2 separate regions of the Homo sapiens genome follow, and region 2 is linked to region 1. Evidence: promoter capture Hi-C in human tissues and cell types (Jung and others, 2019). All regions are on one chromosome and are shown on one strand. The core of a region is centred on a gene start or on the middle of the fragment in contact, and the rest is flanking DNA. Distances in the headings are between cores, read along the strand shown. Region 1 holds the start of SLC47A2 (solute carrier family 47 member 2). Region 2 overlaps SLC47A2 (solute carrier family 47 member 2).

Region 1 (6,504 bases), core at 2,382-4,881:
AGGATGAGGGAACTTAAATTCAGAGTAACGTGGTTCGTAAGAAAAAAAGGTTATATCTTAAAAAGGAATAACCAAATGAAATGTACATAATATAAATGAACAAGGCATCCCTATGAGAGGGATTTATTATAAAATAAATTTAATAATAAACTATAGGCCGGGTGCGATGGCTCATGCCTGTAATCCCAGCACTTTGGGAGGCTGAGGCAGGTGGATCACGAGGTCAGGAGATCAAGACCATCCTGGCTAACATGGTGAAACCCCGTTTCTACTAAAAATACAAAAATTAGCCTGGTGTGGTGGCACGTGCCTGTAGTCCCAGCTACTCAGGAGGCTGAAGCAGGAGAATCACTTGAACCTGGGAGGCAGAGGTTGCAGTGAGCCAAGATTGCACCACTGCACTCCAGCCTGGGCGACAGAGCGAGACTCTGTCTCAAGTAATAATAATAATAATAATAATAATCATCATCATCATCATCATCTATAATTCATCAAAAAGTGGTTGTCATCTTTCTCCTTTTCGGAATATGGGAAAATGCACACACTTCATTTCTTCGAAAGCATCTGTAAAGCTCCAACTGTGTCCGGGCACACAAATGCAAATAAAATGCAAATCCCAAATTGTTTCTTGCCTTGCCTTCTAAATTAAAACTGGGCGTTTGTCCGCCTCTGTCCCTGCTGGTCACTGCTGGAGCCGCAGCCATGGGGAGAATCCCCAAACCAAAGCCTGGAAGGTACCCACAGGCACCGTGCACTGTGAGCACTCGTGGCCTAGAGAAGCATGGGGTGTGAGGGCTGGGCATCTTCAGGGTTTCCCTCGGCGGCCCGGGTTTCCCAGCAAGCCCCACCTCCCCAGCCGGAGCCCAGCGCACCTGGACACGTCCGGGTCCTGCCGGAAGAGCAGCAGGATGTGCTGGGTGTTGAGGAAGAGCGCCCAGCAAGGGAGGCAGCAGAGGAGCAGGACCAGCGCGCCCCGCTGCAGGATCACGCCCACGTGCTTCTTGTTGGGGCTGCCGAAGCTCTGCAAAACAGCCCGCCCCGCGTCAGCCGTTTCCACTGCCCGGGACATTCCTAAATCCCGCGCGGGGAGCGGGCTGTCAGCGGCGCCAGCGGTGTGTGGCGGACCCGGCGGCCTCTGGTGACCACAGCCTGGCGCCCGCAGCCTGTAATGGCACAGCGGCCTTCCTGAGCCTGGGCCTACCACTGTCTCCACTGTTCTTCCAAAGCTCCAAGGAGGACGAAGGCACATGGGGCTTCATCACATGTCAGCGGCAGGTTAAGTGGAGCCAGGACAAAGCCCAGGTCCACCGTGAAGCTAAAACCCCCAGGGAGAGGTGAGGCCTTGCCGCTTTGTGACCCCATGGCCACCTGGGCAGCCCCTGCTGGACTGCAGGCCCCTGCAAGCAGGGAGGTTCCTTCTGTGTCCCCTTGGCCTTCGACACATGCCTGCATGTAGGCAGCCGAACTTAGGATTGAGGCTGGGGAACCGGTTGTCTTTCTCTACTTGGTGACCTCCTCTGGGGGCAAGAGATCAGAGAACTGTCTCCACCATCTCCACCCCTTTCTCCTGGCCCAGACTCTTTCAAAGGGGAGGGTCTGTTTCCCTGACAGCCTGTGGTCCTTGGAGGTAGGGCAGGGGCAGCTGACCCCAGGGCCCATTGCTCCCAGATCACCTGGCTGCGCCCCTCCCACCTGCCATCTCCATGGCACCTGTGGAATTGGCTCTGCCCTTGCCTGGCTTCCTGCCCAGCTCCAGGAGGCCACCCACCTGAGACATCAAGGTGTCACATGCCGAAGACAAACCAACTCCTACAGAAACTCCGCAGACATTGACAAACTGGCGCCACACACAGGAGGAAACAAGAGCTTGTCAGGTGAGGCCTGAAGAGAGGCCCCTGCATCTGGGCTGAGCCAGGGTCAGGAAATGCTGCCCAGCAGGCAGCGGTGGCAGAGGCTCTGCTCAGCAGCCTCATGTGCTGTGTGCCCCAGGGCCAGACCGCCTCCATCTCCGGCCCTCAGGTTCCACCTGTGAAGGCAGCTGTCCAGCCACGTGGGCTGTGTCTTCCCATCCCTGACCAGCCACCCAAGACGGGCCCACCCGGGAACCCGGTGGAGAAGCCTGGGGAGAGAACGTCCCTGCTCTGGGCCAAGCTGGGTACTCACGGCCACCGCGAGGGTCACCGATGCCAGCTCCACCTTGCCCAGGTGCCCGCAGAACACAGTGCTCACGATGTAGATCATAAAAGTCAGCACCTGGAACAGGAACTGGAGGACAGCGGCCAGGTCAGACTCGGGGCCACAGGTGCCCACACAGCCGAGCCCTGCAAGACAGGCCTCTCCAGCTTTGAGGGCCCCGCACCAGTGCCCCGAGAGGTCACCTACGCCTGGGGAAGCCAGGGCTGGAGGTCGGATGACCTAGCCCAGCTCCCATTCTGCGTTCTGCAGCTGCAGTCACGCCTGGCCTCCACGTCCCTACCCAGAAGGGTCAGTGCCTGGCGCAGCGCAGTGCCTGGCGCCCTGAGCTTGACCCAAGTGTCTGATACTGCTATTGCAGTTCCTATTATAACAATAATTTGGTCAGGCCGCACACCCCCAAAAAAGGAGGGGAATTAAATACACCAAAATCTTAGTAATGGCTATTTCCAAGTACTAGGATTTGAGTTAAATTTCTTTCTTCTTTATATCTTTCATTTTTTTCTAAAAGTTTTACAGGAAGTGCAATTCCATTACTCCTTTTTGGTTTTGTTTTTTTTGTTTTTTTTTTTTTTTTTGAGACGGAGTTTCGCCCTTGTTGCCCAGGCTGGAGTGCAGTGGCGCGATCTCGGCTCACTGCAACCTACCCGTCCCGGGTTCAAGCGATTCTCTGCCTCTCTCTCCCAAGTAGCTGGAATTACAGGCGCCCGCCACCATGCCTGGTTAATTTTTGTATTTTTAGTAGAGTCGGGGGGTTCTCCATGTTGGCCGGGCTGGTCTCCAACTCCTGACCTCAGGTGATCCTCCCTGCTCGGCCTCCCAAAGTGCTGAGATAACAGGCGTGAGGCAGCACGCCCAGCCTATTCCTCTTCATGATCAGAAAAAATAAATGTATTTAAAACAATTTCCCCTTTGGAAATGAAATGGGTAGCCGGCCCCTTCTTCCCCCTGCGAAGGTGCTGCAGGCTTCATGCATCTCTGGGTCCCATTTGTCCTGGAGCCATCTTCCAACTCAGGCTTTTGTGGGTTTCCAGCTGAGGCACACCCACCCCTTCTGTGTGGGGGCTGCCTGCTGCTGAGCAAAGTCAGGCCCCACTGCCACTGGGGATTGTCCAGAGACAGCTTTCAGGAGCCATCCTGCTGTCCCCAGACTCTGGACCTGGCAGTCAACATGGGCAGTTTCTGGGGAAAATGTGAGCACATTTCTGGATCCTGCCTGCAAGGCAGACACCCTCAGCCTCTCAGCTTCCTCCACTCCCTACCTGCCCCCCAGCTCCTCCTCCTTACCAGGGGTCCAGAAAGGGCAAAGAGAGTCCACATCTCAGTCCCAAAGCCTCTGGGAACCAGCCTGCTGAGGGCAGGGCAGCAGCCCCCATGGTCCAGGGCCACTGTGTCCTGGAGGCTGTCCATTCCTGGCCGGGGCACTGGCTACCCTGCACGCCTGAGCGCCTGCACGGCCAGCTTTGTCCAGCGAGCCACCCCCTGCCTGGGCAGCCCGTGTCGGTACAGCCTGGCTGATGAGTAAGGGGCAGGAGGAGGGGCTACCATGGCAACTTGTGGGATGAGCCCTGCCTCCTAGGGCACTGAGTCCCTGCTGCCAAGCCTACTGCCTCAGCCACTAGGGAGGACAGGTTCCTGGGAGTCACCCAGACCGCTGCCTGTTGTGTCTGGTCTCCCAGAGGGATTGGCAGTAAGGCCTCAGCAGGAGAAGGTCCAGGGCTGCCTGCAGTGGCTGTGGGAGGTGTGCTGAGGCCAGGACAGGGCAGCCTGGCTGGGGCAGCTGAGCCACTGGGCGTCCTGTACCCGGGCGTGATGGTGCCCACAGTGACTCCCGTTTTTCAGAAGAATTGGTGGCCTGCCCGAAGTCACAGAGCAGGTGGTGGCAGAGCCTGAACAGCCCTCAGCCCTGCTTTTCCCTGGGAGGGGTGGCTTCCCAAGAGACAGGGGCCTGGCAAACCCCATGGCAGTGCGGTCCCTAGCCTTTCATGCTGGAGGGGCCTGGGCCTGGGCCTGGGGATAGGGATGGGAGCTAGGACACCTCGGCGGAGTCCCAAGCCCCCCACTGCCCGTCACCCCTTTCAGCAGCATATCTGAGAGCCAGGGGTGGCAGTGCTTGGGAAAGCAGCTCACTATGCACGCCAGTCACTGTGCCCAGCAAGGCTGTGACTCGACGTCCCACAGGGTCCTCTGTCACCTTCCCAAATTGCCCTCTCTGCTTTTCCTTGCAGGGATGGCCTGTGACTCCCCCCTCAACCTGCCTCAAGACCAGCAGGGCAGTGGGAACCAAGAGAGGCATCTAAGGATTGCACCGGTCACCTAGCCCAGTCCTGGATCAAGCTTTTGGGTGTGGTTCAGCCCAGGAGAAGGAGGAGTGAGCGAGGGGGGCAGGAAGACAGCAGGCAGGCTGGCCAGTGGCTGTGGGAGGGCTGAAGACATCCCAAAGGCCCCACTTGGTTCCCATGTCCACCCCTGCAGCGGAGGAGTGGCCGGCAGGATTCCGAGATGCAGCCCCCAGAGCCGCGAGGAGGAAGGAGCAGACCCTGAAGGAGAGGAGGCAGGACAAATACAAAAAAAAAAAAAGGGTTTGCTACACCCATGGGCGGCCCCAAACACAGGCACAGCCCCACCCCAGTCAACACGCAGCCTTCTTTTTTGACACAGAATTCTGAAACGCTCCACTGGATCCTCCCAGGATCACCTGGGAGGTCACATTCCTGCCCTTGTTCTGATGGTTCTTATCACAGCACTCTCCAACCTGTGCACCAAATAGTACCTTTACCACCTGCCTAGAGGAAAGAAGACATTTTATCACCATCGTGATTGTGATGATGACACCAAACAGGAGGAAGTACAGGTGAAAGCTACAGCCCTGCAGGCCAGGCTATTGCTAGTATGTCTGACTTCCCTCCTCCAACACCTTCTCCACGTCCTTCTCACCTTTGGCCAGTTCTCATGGTCAGCCTACCTCTTCCAAAAGGGCAGCCGCAAATCCTCCTGCATCCAGGGGACCTGGGCCTGGGGTCTCTGTTATGTGAAACCAGCTGCTTCCAGCTGACAGGGCCTCTGGGGAGAGCAGTCACCTGCTGGCCTTGGCCTGTCACCTCCTGTCGCAGCATTGCAGTGAGCCCTGCAGCCAGAAGCAATACTTCTTGGGAGCCCATGGCGATGGGGGTGTTCAGGGAGCCCACACGTGGAGGTATAGGCAGAAGAATCCATCTCACTCCAGGTCACTTTTAATGAGGACAGCTGGTTCCCGTGCCCCCACCAAGCTGGAAGGTGTTCAGTGCAGACGCCCCGCCATCAGCTCGGTGACATCAGGCTTTATCCAGAGCTGACCAGTGTTCAGCACTCAGCTGCACAGGACAAAGGTCGGGTCATCTTCCCGAGGGCCAGTCCTAGGCCGAGCATCTCCAAAATCCCTTCTCAGGAACATTCCCAGGATTTTTGTGATAGAAGCCAATGCATTCCTACATTTTCTTCGGGAAGACACTCTCCTCCTACACTCCTCTCAGAATTTCAATCCCCAGACCCCAGTGGGTTTGACCCTGGGGAGGAGCAAGGGCGATTACTGACTCCACTGCCATGCATTGGCCGCCCCAGGCAAAGGTGGTGCAGGCAGAGTGGGGGGTGGGGGGAAGCCACCTCCTCCAGGTGAGGGGTGTCAGAGCTCCGTGAGTCCTCCATAGTCTCCTGGCAATGCCTTCAGGCCCTCCTTTTGTGGTGGTAACTGCAGACTCAGCAGCACCGCCCTGCAGCCACCTGCAGACTCAGCTCCGAGTTGGGTTTTCCAGGATTCTGCCCCGGAACCTGAGATACTTTGAGCGGAGCTGCACATGGCCCCTGTGCGCCATCCTGTGGCTGGGGCGGGGGGAGCCTCCGAGACTTCAGCCTCTGCCCTCTCTCCAGAGCTTCCAATGCTGTCAGGAGCAACATGCCACCCTTCAGTCCTGCATCTTCTGTGGTCTCAGATACTGCACACAACAGACGGATCAGCAGCTCACTCTCAGGAACAGGGCTGCCAATCCCCTAGAATATACAAGCAAGTCCGGGCGATGCTGGACCCTTTCCCTTCTCAGCTGATCACTTGTTTCCAAGGCCCTTATTTCCTGGGGCACATGGCCTATGACATTCTCCCGATGCCAGTTGCCGTGTCAGCCACGTTCTCTGATGGAAACAGTAGAAACGAACTGGGATCATGTCAGCAGATGGAAGAAGGGAGGAAGGGGGAGAGGAGATCATTATTGCCAGGTGATACAGAAGAGGGCTGAGCCGCCAGCCTTGAGAAGGGAGACTCTGGACTCTCAGGGTGAT
Region 2 (6,504 bases), core at 2,488-4,987, 34 kb before region 1:
ACGTGCAGATAATGCTTACTACTAGGATCTCATGAGGAGTGTTCTTGTCAACGCTTGGCCCTGTGATGATCTGTGGCTTCAAAAGCACGTGGGAAACACAATTAATCATGTCTTACCGTATTCTCTCATGACAACTTACGCTCCCAGAGTTTTAGCTGGCTCACTACTGCCCTGATCAAGGATTAGCCCAGGATGGATGAGGTCATGGAGACATCATCTGTGTGAGCTTTGGGCCATGTGCACACACGCCTGGCACTCAGGACCAGCCCTGGGGCAGAGCTGGGGCCATCACTTCATGACATGGACACTGGGCACAAACCAGAGAGATGTTTGTCTGCCTGATGGGGTGGAGAGAGGTAGATAGCAGGTGCCCCCCCAAAGCCAATGAGTCAAGCCAGGCTGGCTGACAAGCCAGGCTCCCCACAAGTTAAAAGTTGGCCTTCCGTCTTGAGCAGAGTTCAGTGGGGGAGATCATGGGCTCTTGAATCTGACGGGTTGATGCGCAGATCTTATGTCTGGCCTTTACAAGTTGTGGGATGAGGGAGGAAATACCTAAGTTCTTTCAGCCTCACTTCCTCATCTGAAAATGGGCATACATCTAGTTGCCTCTCAAGGCCAAAGACTTGGTGTGGGGCCTGGTACTTGCATGCCTGCTAGACAATAGATGTTGTTGTCTTCCTGGTGCTTAGGACATCATTTTCATAATAATGGGAAGAAAAATAGCTTGGGCTTGTACAATTTCCAATTGCATGAGGCACAGAGGGCAGACAAGAGCAACATGCCACTGACATTTATATGTGTACCAAAGTAGAAGCAGCGGTGACAGTATTACCTGAAGATAGGACTGCTTTCTCAGGCCCAGGTCTGGTTGCAGTGCTCTCTGCTCTCTGCTGCTGCTGCCGGCCTGAATGTTTCTTAGCCTAAAGGAGAAAGAACTCAATTGGGTCAACCTGCCAGCTCAACAGTTCACCCCTTCACTGCTAGCCTCGCATTCTCTGTTTTTAAAACATTGCAAGCTGAAGCAGCATATATGCATGTATTCATAGTCATGGGGCTTTTAGAAAGTATCATTTTAAGGCTGGGCATGGTGGCTCACACCTGTAATCCCAGCACTTTGGGAGGCCGAGGCGGGTGGATTGCTGGAGCTCAGGAATTCAAGGCCAGTCTGGGCAATATAGTGAAACCCTGTCTCTACCAAAAATACTAAAAAATTAGCTGGGCATGGTGGCGCATGTCTGTAGTCCCAGCTACTCAGGAGGCTGAGGCAGGAGAACCTCTTGACCCCAGGAGGCAGAGGTTGCATTGAGCCGAGATTGTACCACTGCATTCCATCCTGGGCAACAGAGCGATACTCCATCTCAAATAAATAAATGTATCATTTTAAATATCTGTTTATCCAGCATCTTAAGTGTCAGGATGACTTTTTCTGTGCACAAAGGCAAAACCACACCCTGATAGGATTCAGGGTCTTTGAGAGAACACTGCTTCTGTGCTCTGCTTGCAGACTTGAGTTGTGCCTTTGCTGTGCCTGAGATGCAAAGGCTGCCCTGCCCTGTTTAAAAAGGACATCAAAGAGGATGGTGGGCAGGGTGATTTTATGACCCCTTCCAAAGTCAAGGCACACGCTCGGGGGTTCATCTGGGTTCAGACTAGTTTGAGTTCTTTGCGTTTGTTTGGTTTTCCACAGATGGGGCTGTCTAAGGAAGGTTTTTGGTTTTGTTTCTGTTTATAACTGCAGAGCATGCTTCTTATACTGGCCAATTACAGTGACAGGAGCCACTGTTGAGGCTCAGGTGGCCCCTCTGTAATCCCCCACAAAACACCTGCAGCACGCCTGTAATCCCAGCACTTTGGGAGGCCAAGGTGGGCGGATCACGAGGTCAGGAGATCGAGACCATCCTGGCTAACACGGTGAAACCCCGTCTCTACTAAAAATACAAAAAATTAGCTGGGCGTGGTGGCGGGTGCCTGTAGTCCCAGGTACTGGGGAGGCTGAGGCAGGAGAATGGCATGTACCCAGAAAGTGGAGCTTGCAGTGAGCTGAGATCGCGCCACTGCACTCCAGCCTGGGCGACAGAGTGAGACTCCATCTCACAAACAAACAAACAAAAAAAAAAAACACCTGCAGCTTATACCACACTGCTGCCAAGTTCTGATGTGCTCTGGGCATTTCTGGCTGAGTAGTCACTCCACCTGCTGGGGTCAGGTGCAGGGTGTCTTGTGGCCAGGGTCAGCTGACCCACTTACCTCCTCTGCAGCAAGCTTCCAGTCCAGCCGGGCAGTATAAGCAACAAAGGCAGCAGTTGCCAGGAAGACACAGGCCAGCATGCCCAGCCAGAGGCCTGGAGGAGACAAGTGATGATGGGAACAATGTCCGACGACCACCCAGGCCTCTCCCGACTTCCTCACACCACATACCCATGATTCTCATTCTGACCACAAAGGTCAGAAGGATGCCCAGTGGTAGGCCGATGATGTAATATGTGATGGCATTCACAGCGGCACCAAAGGCCTGCTTCCCAGTTCCTCTCAGAACTCCGCCATAGACACACTAGGAGGGGAGACAGAAATGGGCAAGAGTCAGGATGATGAGACTAAGAGCAGGTGTCATGCAGCAGGCACTGTGCTAAGCCATTCGCATGGCATTGCTTCACTGAGTTCTCACAGCACTGGATGGGTGCCCTTATCTCCCTTTCTTCCCTGAGGGTGGCTGTCCAAGACAGGTCAGATCACTTGTCCATGTTACACAGAAGTAACTGTGTTTTGAACACAACCCTACAGTACTCAGGCTTCACTGCCACACCATATGGCCTCCCTAGAAAGTAAAGGTAGAATTGGTGGCCAGCAACCAGTTGGTCTGGGAGACTGGACTAACTTCACATGATACAGAGGTGGTGTGTTGGTTTCCTGTGGCTACTGTAGCAAATTACTGCAAATATTGTGGCTTAAAATAACATAAATTTGGGCCGGGCATGGTGGCTCATGCCTGTAATCCCAGCACTTTAGGAGGCTGAGGAGGGCAGATCACTTGAGGTCAGGAGTTCAAGACCAGCCTGGCTAAAATGGTGAAACCCCATCTCTAAAAATACAAAAATTAGCCAGGCAAGGTGGCACTGTAATCCCAGCTACTTGGGAGGCTAAGGCACGAGAATTGCTTGAACCTAGGATGCACCACTGCACTCTAGCCTGGGCGACAGAGCGAGACTTGGTCACACACACACACACACACACACACACACACACACAAATTTATTATTTTATTTTACAGTTCTGGAGGTTAGAAGTTTGAATTGGGTCTCACTGTGCCAAAATCAAGAGCTTGTTCCTTCTGAAGGCCCTAGTTGAGAATGTGTCTCTGCTTTTTCTAGCTTCTAGAATTCCTTCTGTATTCATTGGCTGGTGGCCCCACATCACTCTAACCTCTGCTTCCAGCCTCACATCTCCTCTGACTCTCCTGCCTCCCTCTTCTAAGGACCCTTGTATTTACATTGGGCCCACTTGGATGACCCAGGATAATCCCCCTATCTCCAGATTCTTAATCACACCTGCAAAGTCCCATTTGCCTTGAAACACTCACAGGTTCTGGGGATTATGATGTGGACGTTGAAACTTGGGGGCCATTATTTTGCCTACCATGCATGGCAAACAGTGGTTGTTAGCTTATTCCATATGAGACAAGCAGCCCTCACCCACTGCTGTCTGTGATTATGTCTCATCTCAAAGATGAGAATTGCTCTGGAAAAAGTACTGTTTATTTCATTAGTCTCATTTTCCCAACGTGATTCCAGATCTTCTGAACTACAGGCACAGCTCATCCTTGGTCAGGATTATTGGCCAATAGATATTTGGTTATTTTTATTTTGTTCCTGTGAGAGGTGGGGAGTATTTTGTGGTTTGTACACATTTGAACAAAGAGGTAATGCACTGGGGTTAGGAGATGTATGCCTCTTGAACTTTGTAATATGGTATGTATATTTCTGGTTATTATATGTCATGGCATGATCTTTTTTGGCTAAAGACTTCTCCCAAATTATGATTGATGTACCCTGGACCAGTGTTTCTCAAATGGGGATGACAAATTCTGGGATGTTTTTGTTGTGACAACTGTGGGGGTGTGGTGGGGGAAAGTGTTACAGCATCTAGTGGGTAGAGACCAAGGATGCTGCTAAACATCCTACAATGCCCAGGGGACCGCCCTCCCCCCACCAAACAAAGAGTTATCTGGTCTAAAGTGCCAGTAGTGCTGAGGTTGAGAAACTCTGATTTAGAGTATTGTGAATTAAAGTGGCAATTTCAGTGGCAGGAAGGGCCAGTGGCTTTGCTAGCCTGAGGTTGTGGGCCTGTTTGGGAGAAGCCATCGACCAGTGGACTAGGCAGGGATTTAAGAGGGAGTTTGATGAGGTAAAACAGCCAAGGGAATGGGGAGGTACTGGTAAGTTCTCTACATATCCCAAGCTGACCAGAGGCTGTGCATATGGTGTAGCAGAGACCAAGCCTCCCACATGTTCCTGGACAATGGAGCCTGTCCACATGGGCTGAAGAGACCCGTAGTACCCAGAAGAAAGTAAAAGCCAGGACTCACTTGAAAACAGCTGGAACTCTGAATACGTCTCTAGCCCACACATGGATCTGTCAGCAGAGAATGGAAGCTTTGCTAGCTATCAGAGGTGTTGAACACAGTCTCTGACCAGTAATTGGCTGAACACTAAGCTCTGCAGACATTTTTAATCCTAGAAAGAACATTTTAAACTAGAAAGCTAGACTTAAAAAAATAAGAACAAGGGGGAAAAAACTGAGCAAGAGACATCAGCAGCTGTACATTGTAGAGGAGACAGGAGTCACAGAATCAGTCTAAGCAAGTTACTTAACCAACACAATGACATTCCTTGGGTCTCACATGCAGCATTCTCCAGGATAGACCTGCGGTAGGCCACAAAACAAATCTCAATAAACTAAACTTAAAACAATCTTTTTTAAGAGATGGAGTCTTGCTATGTTACCCTGGCTGGTCTTGAACTCCTAGGCTCAAGTAGTGCTCTCATCTCAGTCTCCTGAGTACCTGGGACTACAGGCACATTCCATCATGCCTGGCAAATTTTGAAAGACTGAATTCATACAAAGTATGTTCTCTGGCCACAACAGAATTAAATTAGAGATGCCTGCCAGAAATAAAACCCCAAATATTTGGAAATTAAATGCACTTCTAAACCATAAGTCAAAGAATAAATCACATGAGAAATTTAAAAATATTTCAAACTTGAAAATTTTGATGAACATCAAAATTTATTAGATGCAACTAAGGCAATGCTTAGAGGGAAATGTACAGCTTCAAATGCCTATATTGGAAAGGGAGAAAGGTCTCGAATCAATGACCTACTATTCTACCCTAAGAAGCTAGTAAAGAAGAACAAACTATACCTAAATGAAGTAAAAGGATAAGAATGTAAAAGATTAGTGTGGGCCAGGCATGGTGGCTCACACCTGTAATCCCAGCACTTTGGGAGGCCAAGGCAGGAGGACTGCTTGAGGCCAGGAGTTAGAGACCAGCTTGGGCAATATAGCAAGACTCTTTCTACAAAAAAAAAAAAAAAATTAAAAGTTAAAAAATAAATAGATAAAAGATTAGTGTGAAATCATTGAAATAAACAGCAGAAGACTAAAACATGCATCTATTAAAAAAACTACTTTTCGCCCTCTCCCTCTCCCTCTCCCTCCCGCTCTTGCTCTCGCTCTCCATCTCCCTCTTTCTACGGTCTCCCTCTCTTGCGGAGCCTGGACTGTACTGCCATGATCTCGGTTCACTGCAACCTCCCTGCCTCAGGCTCCGGTGATTCTCCTGCCCCGGCCTGCCGAGTGCCTGGGATTCCAGGCACGCGCTGCCACTCCTGACTGGTTTTTGTATTTTTGGTGGAGATGGGGTTTCGCCGTGTTGACCGGGCTGGCCTCCAGCTCCTAGCCTCGGGTGAAGTGCCCGCCTCGGCCTCCTGAGGTGCTGGGATTGCAGACGGAGTCTCGCTCACTCAATGCTCAATGTTGCCCAGGCTGGAGTGCAGTGGCGTGATCTCGGCTTGCTACAACCTCCATCTCCCAGCTGCCTGCCTTGGCCTCCCAAAGTGCTAAGATTACAGCCTCTGCCCGCCCGCCACCCCATCTAGGAAGTGAGCAGCGTCTCTGCTTGGCTGCCCATCGTCTGGGATGTGAGGAGCCCCTGTGCCTGGCCACCCCATCTGGGAAGTGAGGCGCGCCTCTGCCTGGCTGCCACCACGTCTAGGAAGTGAGGAGCGTCTCTGCCTGGCCGCCCATCATCTGGGATGTGAGGAGCCCCTCTGCCTGGCCGCCCCGTCTGGGAAGTGAGGAGTGCCTCTGCCCAGTCGCCCCATCTGGGAGGTGAGGAGCGCCTCTGCCTGGCCGCCCCGTCTGGGAGGGTTAAATGGATTAAGGGCGGTGCAAGATGTGCTTTGTTAAACAGATGCTTGAAGGCAGCATGCTCATTAAGAGTCATCA

Evidence for each region. Contacts are between HindIII fragments. The study calls those that stand out against the background at their distance.
Region 2: a contact is called between a fragment that was not itself captured here and the fragment with the promoter of SLC47A2 in region 1, in 4 of the 25 tissues and cell types used here (dorsolateral prefrontal cortex, mesendoderm cells, spleen and 1 more).

The regions. Positions count from the first base shown.
Region 1 is chr17:19,712,953-19,719,456 of GRCh38, forward strand. SLC47A2 (solute carrier family 47 member 2) reads right to left here and starts at 3,632. Exons shown (of 17, transcript NM_001099646.3): 1 at 3,481-3,632; 2 at 2,164-2,265; 3 at 1,769-1,837; 4 at 873-1,021. The coding sequence starts at 3,603. It overlaps LOC124903948 (a long non-coding RNA gene), which reads left to right and starts at 1,394. Exons shown (of 2, transcript XR_007065659.1): 1 at 1,394-2,283; 2 at 4,422-6,504. RefSeq lists enhancers at 3,110-3,959, 3,960-4,807. The HindIII fragment of the contact is 9,747 bases long and covers 1-6,504 here.
Region 2 is chr17:19,679,120-19,685,623 of GRCh38, forward strand. It overlaps SLC47A2 (solute carrier family 47 member 2), which reads right to left. Exons shown (of 17, transcript NM_001099646.3): 14 at 2,419-2,551; 15 at 2,248-2,342; 16 at 833-920. Among named protein-coding and RNA genes, the nearest start is that of ALDH3A2, 34 kb to the left of the region's middle. RefSeq lists an enhancer at 1,731-2,232. The HindIII fragment of the contact is 5,655 bases long and covers 911-6,504 here.